Regions from separate parts of the Homo sapiens genome. Here all the other regions are linked to region 1. Evidence: promoter capture Hi-C in 16 types of primary human blood cells and fetal thymus (Javierre and others, 2016). All regions are on one chromosome and are shown on one strand. The core of a region is centred on a gene start or on the middle of the fragment in contact, and the rest is flanking DNA. Distances in the headings are between cores, read along the strand shown.

The links. The method cuts DNA at HindIII sites, captures the fragments that hold promoters and counts their contacts. A CHiCAGO score of 5 or more calls a contact.
Region 2: a fragment that was not itself captured here is called in contact with the fragment with the promoter of P2RY10 in region 1 in 4 of 17 cell types (non-activated CD4 T cells, total CD4 T cells, naive CD8 T cells and 1 more); the score reaches 6.4 in non-activated CD4 T cells.
Region 3: the fragment with the promoter of TAF9B here is called in contact with the fragment with the promoter of P2RY10 in region 1 in 8 of 17 cell types (naive CD8 T cells, neutrophils, naive CD4 T cells and 5 more); the score reaches 10.1 in naive CD8 T cells.

What each region holds. Positions count from the first base shown.
Region 1 is chrX:78,942,513-78,947,411 of GRCh38, forward strand. It overlaps P2RY10 (P2Y receptor family member 10), which reads left to right and starts at 2,879. Exons shown (of 4, transcript NM_014499.4): 1 at 2,879-2,983. The HindIII fragment of the contact is 3,107 bases long and covers 1-2,922 here.
Region 2 is chrX:78,119,336-78,122,751 of GRCh38, forward strand. All of the region lies in intron 6 of PGK1 (phosphoglycerate kinase 1), which reads left to right. Among named protein-coding and RNA genes, the nearest start is that of PGK1, 17 kb to the left of the region's middle. The HindIII fragment of the contact is 7,637 bases long and covers 1-3,416 here.
Region 3 is chrX:78,137,616-78,142,514 of GRCh38, forward strand. TAF9B (TATA-box binding protein associated factor 9b) reads right to left here and starts at 2,035. Exons shown (of 7, transcript NM_015975.5): 1 at 1,946-2,035; 2 at 1,228-1,309; 3 at 347-483; 4 at 134-268. The coding sequence starts at 1,996. RefSeq lists an enhancer at 1,724-2,033. The HindIII fragment of the contact is 21,206 bases long and covers 1-4,899 here.

The DNA.
Region 1 (4,899 bases), core at 1,629-4,128:
ATGTACTGTGCTTCATTTTCTAACTATTTTATGAATAATTAACTTGTCACATAAACTGTAGACTCTTGGAGGATAGGAAACATATTTTTTGTTTCCCAAACTCAGCCTTCCTCCACAGCTTTGGAGAGATTTCTCATTGTTGTAGTTCATTAAGTATTTGTTAAATGATTAGTTTTCAAAAATGCATAGGAATACTCTGCAGATATATAATCAGACATGGAAAACTCTTGAAGGTATTTTACCTAAAGCAATTTAGCTTCACTAGTTCTAATTTAAAAAGAATTGAGGTTCACAGTTCACTCTGTCCTTTATTTTTCATTTTTGGATTCCACTATGTTCCAGAAAGGACTGAAAGTTGTTTCAAAGGAAGAATGTTATAAGAAGATAATATAAGTTAAAGTGGATAAAAAATAATAATGACAAAATTGGCAAAGACATAAAAATTGAGATATGATAAAAATGAATCCCACAAAGCACACCATAAAAAATCTCCACACTTGCTACCAGTAGATTCTATGTTGGTTCATGATTTTTAATCAGACTTTGTAAAAAGAGACACATGACCAATTACAAAGTCAGTATTCATAAAAATAAAATTTAACCATTTGCTTAGGAAAAACCTAGCTTCTCCTCATACTAAATCATATAGAGCTCTAGGGTTACCTAGGAAACACAATATATGGTAATGAATAACATTCTCAACAATAGCTATCACTCCTCATTTATTGATACTGTTAGAGAGAATTTAAAGCCTTTGAAGCACCAAATCATAAACTTTCCCCAGCCTATGGAAGACATAATTCATCATTTAAAGTAAACTTTGATGACATACATAAGAATAAGGAAAGAATTTAGAACTATTGGTAAAATAGTACAACTGCACTACTTTTAAGAATCTTATAATTAGGGTACTTATTACTTTGTTTTAGTTTATAATGATTTGTAAACCATAAGTCGTACCTAGTAACAAAAAGACTTTCTTTTAAAAGTTAATTGGAGATGACTGTTAGGTTATCAGCTTGCTTTGTTTCTCCACAGATTTGTTCATTATAATTGTATTAGTTTGTTTTCATGCTGCTGATAAAGACATACCTGAGACTGGGAAGAAAAAGAGGTTTAATTGGACTTAACAGTCCCATATGGCTGGGGAGGCCTCAGAATCATGGTGGGAGGAAAAAGGCACTTGTTACATGGCAGTGGCAAGAGAAAATGAGAAAGATGCAAAAGCAGAAACCCCTTATAAAACCATCAGATTTCATGAGACTTATTAACTACCAGGAGAATAGTATGGAGGAAACTGGAGGAAACTGCCCCCATGATTCTAATGAACTGCCTTCAAGTCCCTCCCACAACACGTGGGAATTATGGGAGTACAATTCAAGATGAGATTTGGGAAGGGATACAGAGCCAAACCATATCAATAATTAACACTCAAAATTTACCTGAGTTAAAATTTTTCATTTGAATTGGGACACTGACTTCTGGTTTTATTTTTCTTCCCTTTTTAGGGTCAGTGACAGAAGAAGCTGCTTGCGTGCAAGACAGAAATGAAGTAAACTGGTAGGTTTCCTTCTCGCAATGTGAAGGTTTTGTCTGTGAAATAAAGTTGGGATGTGGTGATCATAGCCAGTTGTAAGAAAAGGATTTCTTGTATTTCTGGATCCCAGGGTTTGCCTTCAAAGCTCAACAGGTCTGGAATTTTTTTGTTTGTTCAGAGAAGAATCTTACCCTAGGAAAACTGGCTCACACTAACCATAGGGAGGAACACAACTGCCAAATGGACTGAGATGTGTGTTGGTCTGTCAGTGTATTCTCTTTTCAGTAGGGATGCCAATTCAGAAACCTAAATTAACAAAAGATAGGAGCTGAATAAACATTTGAAATCAAAATTAAGAAGGGGATTGAAAGGCTAAACTTGTTTCATTTGACATACATCAGCCAGGATGATGCCAGTCTTCACAAGTTATGACATTTCCATCAATCATCCCAAGCTCTTAGTTTCCAATACTGTCAGCTTCTCTTTCCCTTACACGCCAACAGGGGTTTGTGCTGCATTTTAAACCTCGTTTCTCAAAACTACTCTCAGACTTAGTTGACACTGTAGTCCTCAAGTGTATGATCTTCCTGTATTCACATAGTTTTGAAGGCCCCATATACACTGTACATAAAAACCAGAATTTTAGTACACTGGAGGGAGACCCCGTAATCAATAATGTTCATTTACTTATTCATGCATTCTTTGAGCATTTGTTTATTTATTAATTCCCATATGTATTCATTCAATAACAATTCATGAAAATGCCTTGTGCTGGACAAATTGGGAATACAGATATGAATCAGACATGATCTTTACCCTCAAGCAGTGTGCAGTCTAGTAAAGGGATAATAAATATACAAAAATAATGAAACTATGTGTTAAATTGTGAGCCTCAAGATGAAGGGGTTGGGAGAGGGGCACTCCAGATGGAGGGAACAACTTAAGCAAAGGTACTTCTACTGTTTCTAATTTTGACTTGTATTTTTTAGGTTTCCTCAGCCTTTGCCCCTCAGGCTTGCACAAGCTGTAGCTTTCTTGTTACTAGGTAAACACTCTTTAGATTTTCCTGAAAATTTCATCTTACCATGGAACCTACTGGAATCAGTGAAAATCTAGATATGTCGGTTGTCAAGGAAGGAGATAGGGTGAGGAAGGCTGTTATATAGCCATTGTGTGAGTATGCATAGCCTCTGACTCCCTGCTATTTGAATTTCTCTGCACCAATGAAATAAAAAGAAATAAAATTTGAGTAACGTCATTTGCTCAAGGGACTTACCTTTCATTTGTGCAAATAAGGTTTCTGTGGTGAGACACCAGATAAACTCAACTTCCTCTTTCAACAACAAATGTGTCAGTTATCAGCAGGATCCATGCCGCCAGAGTAAAGCTTTCTACCCTTTACTCCCTGCAAAGAAACAAGAGTGCTTATCCCAGCTAAGCTCCAGGGTAAGTTAATGCCTAGCACCTGGGGATTGGTGGTTTCATGTGGGAAGATTGGTGTGATCATAAAAATCAGAACAGAGGTGGATGTGGGGCCAGTGTCTGTATTAAAATTGTCACTGGTTTCTCATCTCAGACATCTTACAACAGGAGCAAAGATAATTACTGTTGAGTTTGACCAGAGTCCAAAGTTAACGTTAATGCCATCAGTCCTCTTCATTATGCCAGGAGCATGGAGTCTGTGATGCAGCTCACTCTTTGATGAGGGCTCTTTAGAGAGTGGGACCAGAGAAGATGGCACAAAGTGGTAAGAAGAGTATATTCAGTGAGACTCATTGGGACAACTTGACATATTCGGCCAATAAAAGTCAATTTAATTTTTTATGGTGTATAATTTATCTAGCTGCATCGTGAAGGAAGATTTTTGGGTATAAAATCCTTGCTTTGGAAAATTTAGCTTTCAGAGATACTGAGACAAATAGTAGAAAGCAGGGTAATAGATTCTGGGGGCTGAAAGGGCCCATAGAGATCCAAATCCCTCACAATACAGTCAGGAAAACTGAGAGCCAGTGAAGTGAAGACACTTAGGTTCACTCAGCTTGTTAGTGGTATAGGTGGATCTAGGACCTGTGTCTTTAAACTCATGTTTGCCTTTTCCTACAGCAGTTTGCATCTCCCAGAGAATACTGTAAATTTATTTGTGACCCTGCCATTTTTTAGGATAGGAAAGGAGAAAGTATCCCAGATGACTTCAGAGTCTGGTCAGAGTGGTTCCTTGATCCTTTGAAAGCTAATTTTGACCGAAGTTCAGCCTTACTGGATAGCAAAGCCCATGAGTGAGGCACTCATTTTTTCAGTTATTATTGCTATTACTCTGAATACTAGCACCTCTCTCCTTCTGAGCTAAGATGACTAAATCAAAAGGAGACTTTCAGCTAAGGAGTCCCTGAAGGGAGACTGTGCCAAATCATTTGGAACCAGGATAAGGCTGGATAGAATGATACCAGATTTGGCTGTGCTTTCCAGGGGAGTAGGCTCAGTTCCAAGAATCCTGCAAGTGAGAATATTTTTATTTCAGTTGTTCAAATGGATGTGTGGAGTCATTATGATGTATATTAATTGGAGAATCTATCTCTTAGCAATTGCAGCACAGTAAAATTAACCACTTATGAAAGTAGGTGATATGCAGATATACTGAGGTGGAAAATGGTGTAAACTACAGTCAGAATCAGATCACACATTTGGGGCAATTGTTTTTGCAATGGTTCCTGTTGAACACAGATTCTTTGGCCAAATGCAGTTTATTTTGGGGCTCAACTGGGAAAGTTGTAGAGTTCAAGTTGTACAGACTACTCAAATCTGAAGACATCAAATGAATAAACACATTTATGGGTTGTTTTGGTTTGAAATAAGTGAGTTGGGGTTTTAAAAGACAGGCCAGCCTGCTGGGCTTGGTGGCTCACGCTGTAATTCCAGCATTTTGGGAGGCCGAGACAGGTGGATCACCTGAGGTCAGGAGTTCGAGACCAGCCTGGTCAACATGGCGAAACCCCGTTTCTACTAAAAAATACAGAAATTAGCTGGTTGCAGTGGCAGGCGCCTGTAATCCCAGCTACTGGGCAAGCTGAGGCTGGAGAATCGCTCGAAACCGAGAGATGGAGGTTGCAGTGAGCTGAGACTGTGCCATTGCACTCCAGCCTGGGAGACAGACCAAGACTCTGGCTCAAAAAAAAAATAAAAAAAAGATAGGCTGCCTATCTATACTATAGCTCTCTGTCATGGCTCAAGCAAAGAGAACAAAGCTGTTTATAGTAAAATGAGACTTTCTAAAAGCACTAACAATCAGGGCAATGGTTCCCCGGTGGTCTATGATTTATTTTAAAAGCTTTTGGCAAAAAGGTTTATTTATTCTTCAGATCAGT
Region 2 (3,416 bases), core at 571-3,070, 820 kb before region 1:
GAGGGTTGAGAGGAGGATAAATTTTAGGTGAGAGAGCTAGCACTGCTTGGATAAGACAATTTCCTGTGACTTGGTGTGGTGATCTAGGTAGCAGTCTCTTTATGGCTGGAGGCCCATTACCCTTCTATGAGCAGGGTTTTTTCCCCCAGGGGAGTGAACATACTATCTCCTGATGAAAATTGACTCTGGAGTTGGGTGTCAATTTCAGGTAGCATAGTTGCTTATACTGTTTGGCTCTGTGTCTCCACCCAAATCTCATCTCGAATTATCCCCACGTGTTGTGGGAGGGACCTGGTGATTGGATCAAGGGGGCGGTTCACCCCATACTGTTCTTGTGATAGTGTTGTTTGGCAGTTCCACCCTCGCTCGCCTCTCTCTTGCCACCATGTAAGATGTGACTTGCTTCCCCTTTGCCTTCCGCCACGATTGTAAATTTCCTGAGGCCTCTCCAGCCATGCGGAACTGTGAGTCAATTTAACCTTTCTTTATAAATTACCAAGTCTCAGGTAGTCCTTTATAGCATTGTGAAAATGGGCTAATACAGTTGCTTTCTAGGCTTTATGAGCCCAGTTTCAGAGTCTTAAAAATAACTCAGGTAGATACAGGTTGTTGTGTCTTGTTCTTGGAAAAAGGTATCTATTCCTGGGCTTTGTTCTTCAACTTTCTGTAGACCTGGAATATGGGAGTGAGTGCCACCTAGTGCTACCTTATGGTTAGGTTTTTAGGTTCAGACTGAAATAGCTGTTACGGGGAATTGGATGTGAGATTTTTTTGCCACCTTTCTTGTAGTGTAGTTTCCCTAGGCCATTAACAGTTTTTGGGAAAACTTTTATATTTTATTAAACAAACTTTATTGTAAGAAACACTCATATGTATGGAAGTTGAGAGAATAGTGTAGTAAACTCCCAGGTATCCATTACCCTGTTTCAACAATTAATTGACAGTTTTGCTAATCTTGTTTCTTTTATGTCCTAACTCTGTTTTGTCAGGAATGTACACACACACACACACACATATATATACACACACACACGTATATATTCCTGACAAAGTGAATACAAGTGAAATAAATATGTGTATATATGTGTGTGTGTGTGTGTACATATATAGATATTTTAGATATATAGACATATCTATATATCTAGATCTAGATCTATATATAGATTTTTTTTTTTCTGATACAGGGTCTCACTCTGCTGCCCAGGCTGAAGTGCAGTGGCATGATCACAGCTCACTGCAGCTTTGACCTTCCAGGCTCAAGCGATCCTCCCACCTCAGCCTCCCTAGTACCTGGGACTACAGGCATGCATCACCATGCCTGGCTAATTTTTGAATCTTTTTGTAGAGACAGGGTCTCACTGTGTTGCCCAGGCTGGTCTCGAACTCTGGGGCTCAGGCGATCTGCCTGCCTTGGTCTCCCAAAGTGTTGAGATTACAGGCGTGAGCTTGTGCCCTGCTGTCAGGAATGTTTTTAAGTTAGCCTTAGACATCATATACTTTCACTTACATAGGTTGAGTATCTTTTATCTGAAATGCTTGGGACCATAAATGTTTTGGATTTCAGATTTATTTTTGGATTTTGGAATATTTGCATGGTACTTACCAGTTGAGCATCCTAATCTGAAAATATGAAATCTGAAATGTTCCAATGATATTTCCTTTGAGCTCAAACAGTTTTGATCTTGGAGGATTTTAGATTTTTGGATTAGGGATACTCAACCTGTAATACTCCTGTATACATCTTGTAACTGCTAAGCAGATTTCTTTTAAATAATCACCATATTATACCTAACAAATTTAGCAGTTTTGTTACTATCATCCAATACCCAATCTGTATTCAGATGTTCTTGATCATCTCAGAAGTGTCTTTTTACAGTTGGTTTGTTTGAATAAGGATTCAAATGAAGTCCATGCATTGCCTTTGGCTGTTAGGTATCTCTTGTAATAATCTCCTATTTATTACTTTCATTCTGTTGATTTGTTGAAGAAACAGGCATTTGAGCTGTAAGCTATTCTTTAGAAGAAATTGAACTCCTTTCTAACTGCTTTCTTCCCTTTGTGTGTGTATGTGTGTGTGTGTGTGTGTGTGTATTTAAAACAATCTATCTTTACCCTTGGTGGTAACCAATCTTTACAACTGAAATAAATAGTAAATAGTTTCTTGCCATCTGTTCACCCACATCACTGTTGTTTCATACCTCCTTTTCACAAATCCTAGCATAGGGTTTCTCACTGGATAGGCATTATCTTGTTTATTGAATGAAGAAGGAAACAGACACAAGGTGGTTTGTCCACGTAAGTGGGATTTAGTTATATGGGAATGTTTATGGAAGGCAGGCTATTACTTTGTTTCTCTTTAGTTTGGATCTTTTTTGTCTCATAGGGAGATGCAAGATACATGTGTATTTATCTTATTTCCATGTACTAGAAAATAAGATCCCAAAGGGTAGGGATCTTTCTGTTGCCTTTGCCCTGTGATGTTTCTCAAAGACCTAGAATAGTGCTTGGCACAGAGTAGGTGCCCAGTAAATGTGTTGAATTGGGTGACCCAATAAAAATAAATGCCATAAAGAAAATGTCCCAGGCTGGGCATGGTGGCTTAGGCATGTAACCCTAGTGCTTTGGAAGGCCAAGGCAGGAGGATCACTTGAGCTTAGGAGTTTGAAACTAGCCTGGGCAACATAGTGAGACCTTGTCTCTACAAAAAAATTTAAAAAGAAAAATTATCCAGGGGTAGTGTTGTACGCCTGTGGTCGCAGCTACTTGAGAGGCTGAGGCAAGAGGATTGCTTGAGCCTAGGAGTTCCAGGTTACAGTGAGCTATGATTGTACCACTGCACTCCAGCCTCGGCAACAGAGTGAGACTTTGTGTTGAAAAGAGAGAGAGAAAAAAATGTCCCAGCAACTGAGCATAGGGTATGACTTTAGGAATATATATTTTTGTTCAGTATATATTTATTTAGTATACAGTCCAGTCAATCCCTGCTCTAAGGTTAGGATAATTCTGAGTGGCTCTGGGATCCCACAATTAGCAATCGTGCTTAGATACAATTAGCAATCTTGATGCTCTGAATTTGTGTGTGTGTGTGTGTGTGTGTGTGTGTGTGTGTGTGTGTGTTGGGGAATGTGCAAAATAGATGTGGAACCCATAGTTTCCTTAGACAAGAGTAGGTCTTCTGAGCCCTGCTTAAAAAAAGAATATGGATTTAAATCTGTTGTCCATCAGCTTCTAGGTAGAATTAAAAAAAAATGTATTGATGGTAAGTGGGGTGAGGAATTTTTAAAAAGATACACTGATGTCTGGAGCCATACCTTAAAAGGATTTCTTAGAAATGGATTGAGTTTTTGGGTTGGAGAAACATAGGGCAAAGTTAGGCAGTACTTTTGTCACTTTGAGACTTTCTCTGTTCCTGTGCC
Region 3 (4,899 bases), core at 785-3,284, 810 kb before region 1:
TTAAAATTAAAAAAATTCTAGTAAGTTATCTTAACCTTTAATCTACTATACTAGCTACAGGAATTTGCTTTTCACAAAGTCCCCTATCATATTCCACCTTTTAAAAAAAGAAAAGTTGACTAAAATTTCTTACCTTTTTAATTAAGGACTTCAGCCTATAGTTTGGAGCTGTTAAGCAGTATCTATCAGGTGGCAGTCTAGGTCCTGCATATGGCTTAATCAGTGGCAAAGGGGTTTGATTTTTCTGCCTTGCGATATCCAGTAAAAACTTAAAAAAAAAATCCTTATTAGAACTACAGTTTTAAAAATTGTAAGTAAAAATAACTTCAAATCAAAGTTTGCTCACATCTCTTGGGGGAGGAGAGGTAAAAGATTGGTCAGCACGACACTGGATTGCCAGTCTCACATCATCTGCATCAACATTAGGTTTCTTAGCATGGCTCGAATAAATTTTTGCATCATCCAGAATTGTAGTCACATAACCTATAAGAACAAAACAATCTTTTCTTAAACATATGAAGACAGCTTAATATTTATGGCTACTTGTCTTAATAAAACTTTCCACTAATTTGTAGACGGTTTATAAATTTTGTGGGTTTTTGTAGAGACAGGGTCTCGCTATGTTGCCCAGGAAACTCCTGGCCTCCCCGCGACAGCCTCCCGAAGTGCTGAGATTACAGGTGTAAGCTACTGTGCTCAGCCTAAATGCTGATTTTAATAAGTAATTGTCCTGTCTATATGATCAGTTTTAAACAGATATCACAGTGTGAATACTACTGTCCCCTAGCTTGAGCTCCTTTCGTTCTTTAGGCTGAATTCTATGATACTGTTAACATAATTTGGTTGAAAATGTTCTTACAAGGCTGGGTGCGGTGGCTCACGCCTGTAATCCCAACACTTTGGGAGGCCGAGATGGGGGGATCACTTGAGTCAGTAGTTCGAGGCCAGCCTGGGCAATATGGCGAAACTCCCTTTCTACTAATAATACAACACTTAGCCGGGCGTGGTGGCAAGTGCCTGTAGTCCCAGCTCGGGAGGCTGAGGCACAAGAATCGCTTGAACCCAGGAGGCGGAGGCCGCAGTGAGCCAAGATCGCGCCACTGCCTTCTAGCCTGGGCAACAGCGAGTCCCTGTCTCAAAAAAGAAAATAAAAGAAAATGTTCTTACAATAAAAATATCTTTTCAAGTTCACAAGTTAGGCAAGTTTTTGGTGTTTCATTAACTTACGGAAAGCAAATTCCAACATTTGATTTATAACCCTTGGTTCATACTCTGTGATTCCCATATCCTTCAGGATCTGTGCCATCACCTGTGGATTCAAATAAAAACACCAGATGCAGAATTTGGTACTGGAAATCAAGGCTGCACTGAAGGGTAGTATTTATATTTATGATACAAGGTTCCCCTTCTTTGGGCTCCAAAGTCCTACTCACCCTTGCCCTCCCAAGTGAGTCAGTGATCACACGAAATCGCATAGTACGCTTTTGCAGAAAACTTTTATTTTTATTTTTTGGCGGGGTTGGGGGCGGGGTGTGGGGCAAAGAGAAGACAGAATTTGGCTTCTCCAGCAGAGGTAAGTAGCTCCAGCTGGTTGTCATTTTTGGCTGTGGCGGCGGGTTAAGGTAGCATCAGAACCCTGGACGCGGAGTCAGGGCTGGCAGATAGCTAGAGACGAGGGGGAGGCAGGGGCCCGAAGCCCAGGACACAAAGCTGGGCAGCCGTTCCGCAAGCTCCACTGGACCGCGACCCTCTGGCAAGACTTGGCCCAAGCGGCGAGATAGGGGCCCGGGGGCCAGGGCGCATCCCCATCACCCTCTCCTCCTGACGGCCCTGACTAGACTGAAACGAGCGTGCGAGCCGACCCTCAGGCCCTCAGCGTGGCCCCGCCTCGCAGGTCCCTGGCTGCACCTGGCTTCGCGATCCGCGGCTTATCCTTCGCACTTACCAAGGCATCTCTCGGAGCGTTCTTGGGAGGCGCCATCTTGCCCGACTCCATGTTATCCAGCCACTCGTCATCCGCGGAGACAGAGGAGAGAGGAGAGCTCGCGGGCTCCTCGCTCAGGCTCCACCCCTGCGGGGAGCGGGAGGAGGGAAACGGAAGGCGGGGTTACGTGCCAGCCGCCGGGGGCGGGAGTTTCAGCAAGCCGCTGGCCAGGGGAAGAGACGCGCTGGGGTGCCCGAGTTCAGTATTGGAAGAGGCAGGTAATCCTTCCCCATGGAGCCTGCTGGGGCCTGAAAGAAGTAGAGGGGCCGAGAAGCTCGACTTCCCAGAGTTGTTTCCCGGCAAAGGGCACCAAGTGGGCCAACCTCACCTTTGCGGGGGTCCCTCCTCACACCTCCACGGCTACCACCTTTGCCCCTTTCGGCCTCCCGGAATTCCAGACCCAGTCGGTGTTAGGGCTGCTTGGTCCAACACAGTTGGACCCGTTACGTTTGAATGTCACATCAACAAGGAATACATTTTTAGTATAAGTATATCCCAGATTTGCACAGGCCATACTTATGCTACGAAATAATTGTTCTGATATTCATATTTAACCGGGTGTCCTGGATTTTTATTAGCTAAATCTGACAATCCTACCCAATAGCTTGCTCTCCCCACAGCAAGACTTTGGTCAGCCCTTGTCACACTCAAAGCCCTACCGTGGCTGCCCATTTCACACTGATGAAAAACTAAAGCCTTCACTCGGCCCGTTAGAGACCCTCTAGCCTCTCTTGGCCCTGGAGCAGCTTCCTGTCTCCCCGCTGAGGCCAACACAGGACCCTTCCTTGCCTCCCAGTTACACCCTTCCCAGCCCCTCACCCACAGAACAGCCCGAATGACTTTTCGTGAGAACCTACCATCCAGCCCCAGTGACTTTCAAAAAATGTGCATCAGTTAACTATCTCTGGCTTAAAATGTCGCAGATAACTCATTCTTACCCTCCACATCCACCAACGCCCTAGGATTCTCCCTCAGGAACAGGAACCGTGACTCACCCAGGCCAGAAACGGAGCAGGCAGCCATGTTGGCGCTTTCCCTCACAATCCACACTCAACCTAGCAACAAGTCTTGTCCGGGTGACCTCCCAAAGTTCTATCCATGTCTCCACATCTCCATCCAGTGCTACTATGCTAACGAGTCCAAGCCAACATCCTTACCAAGATTACAGAAATATGCTCCCCAAATAGTGTCCCCCCACATTCCTTACACAGCTAGACGGACCTTTCAGTCATAAATCCAATCATTATTTTCCTTAAAACCCTCCAGTGGCTCTCCTCACAAACACTTACACAAATACATACTAATTTCCCAGGCTTAGCGGGTCCTTCAGTTTTGTGGCGCAGCTCACCTCATCAGACTCATCAGAATCAGCAGTCCACCTGGCCGCCATCTTGAAGTTTGGGCAGGAACTCCCCCCAACCAAGAACCATGTGTTCTCAATACATTGTTTCCAGTGAGAGCACGTGCTCCCACGCTGAGCTAGTGCCTTTCTCCACTCTTACTGTGGCCAACCTCTGTGTAAAACTAGTAACAGTCCCTTGCTTTTGAATATTTGCAAGGTACATTTAAAAATAGGTGGGGGCCAGGCACGGTGGCTCACGCCTGTAATCCCAGCACTTCGGGAGCCGAGGCGGGCGGATCACTTAACGTCAGGAGTTTGAGATCAGTTTGGCCAATGTGGTGAAACCCTGTCTCTACTAAAAATACAAAATGTAGCCGGGCATGGCAGGGCACGCCTATAGTCCCAGCTACTCAGGAGGCTGAGGCAGGACAATCGCTGGAACCCAGGAGGTGGACGTTGCAGTGAGTCGAGACTGCGCCACTGCACTCCAGCCTGGGCGACAGAGCGAGACTCCATCTCAGAAAAAGAAATAAAATAAAATAAAAATACGTGGTATATTTGCAAGGTACAACATTTAAGACTACTTTAAAATACCCTAGTAAAAGAAAGCCTCTCTCACCTGTTCCAGCCACTGATGTCACTTTCACAGATGGCACCATTGTTTATCAGTTTCTATTCTGTGCAATTTACAAATAGTATCTTGTTTATATATTTTTCCTCCCACTAGAATGGTACTATAGTCTTAGGGTGGCCAACCTTCAGAGAGCCAACCCAGGACATAGATGTGCTAGATGAAGAAAACCCATAACATATTATAAATAATTGTCCATATGTATCATTACTTAAGAATAAGTGTTCACTTGAAATTATATGTTTTTTATGTATTATTTTCTGTTACATAAGTGCTATTTAAACAAAACACTAGGACTAAACAGTGGCCATTAGTAGTAATTAATAGTAGGATAAGTTAAATAATATGTGTGAGAAAATCTGACAATATTTTTCATTATATTTCTGTCCTCAACAATTTAACTCTTGCACATTTAAATTTTGTACGTCGTATTGTGTATTCTTCATATACAGAAATATAAGACTTTTAAAAGGAATGTAAATATAAGACAAACGGCTATCTATATATATTTTTAATTTTTAATTTTTCTGTGTATATAGTAAGTGTATATATTTATGGGTACATGAAATGTTTTGATGCATGCATGCAATGTGAAATAATCACATCATGGAAAATAGGGTATCTATCTCTTCAAGCATTTATCCTTTGTGTTACAAGCAATCCAATTGCACTCTTAGTTATTTTAAAATTTACAATTAAGTTATTATTGACTATAGTCACTCTGTTGTGCTAGCAAATACCAGGTTTTATTCATCGTTTCTATTTTGTTGTACACATAAACCTACCTGCGTCTCCACCCTCCCACTATCCTTTCCAGCCTCTGGTAACCATCTTTCTACTCTCTGTGTCCATGAGTTCAATTGTTTTGAGTTTTGGATCCCACAAATAAGTGAAAACGTGTGATGTTTGTATTTCTGTCCTTGGCTTATTTCACTTACCATA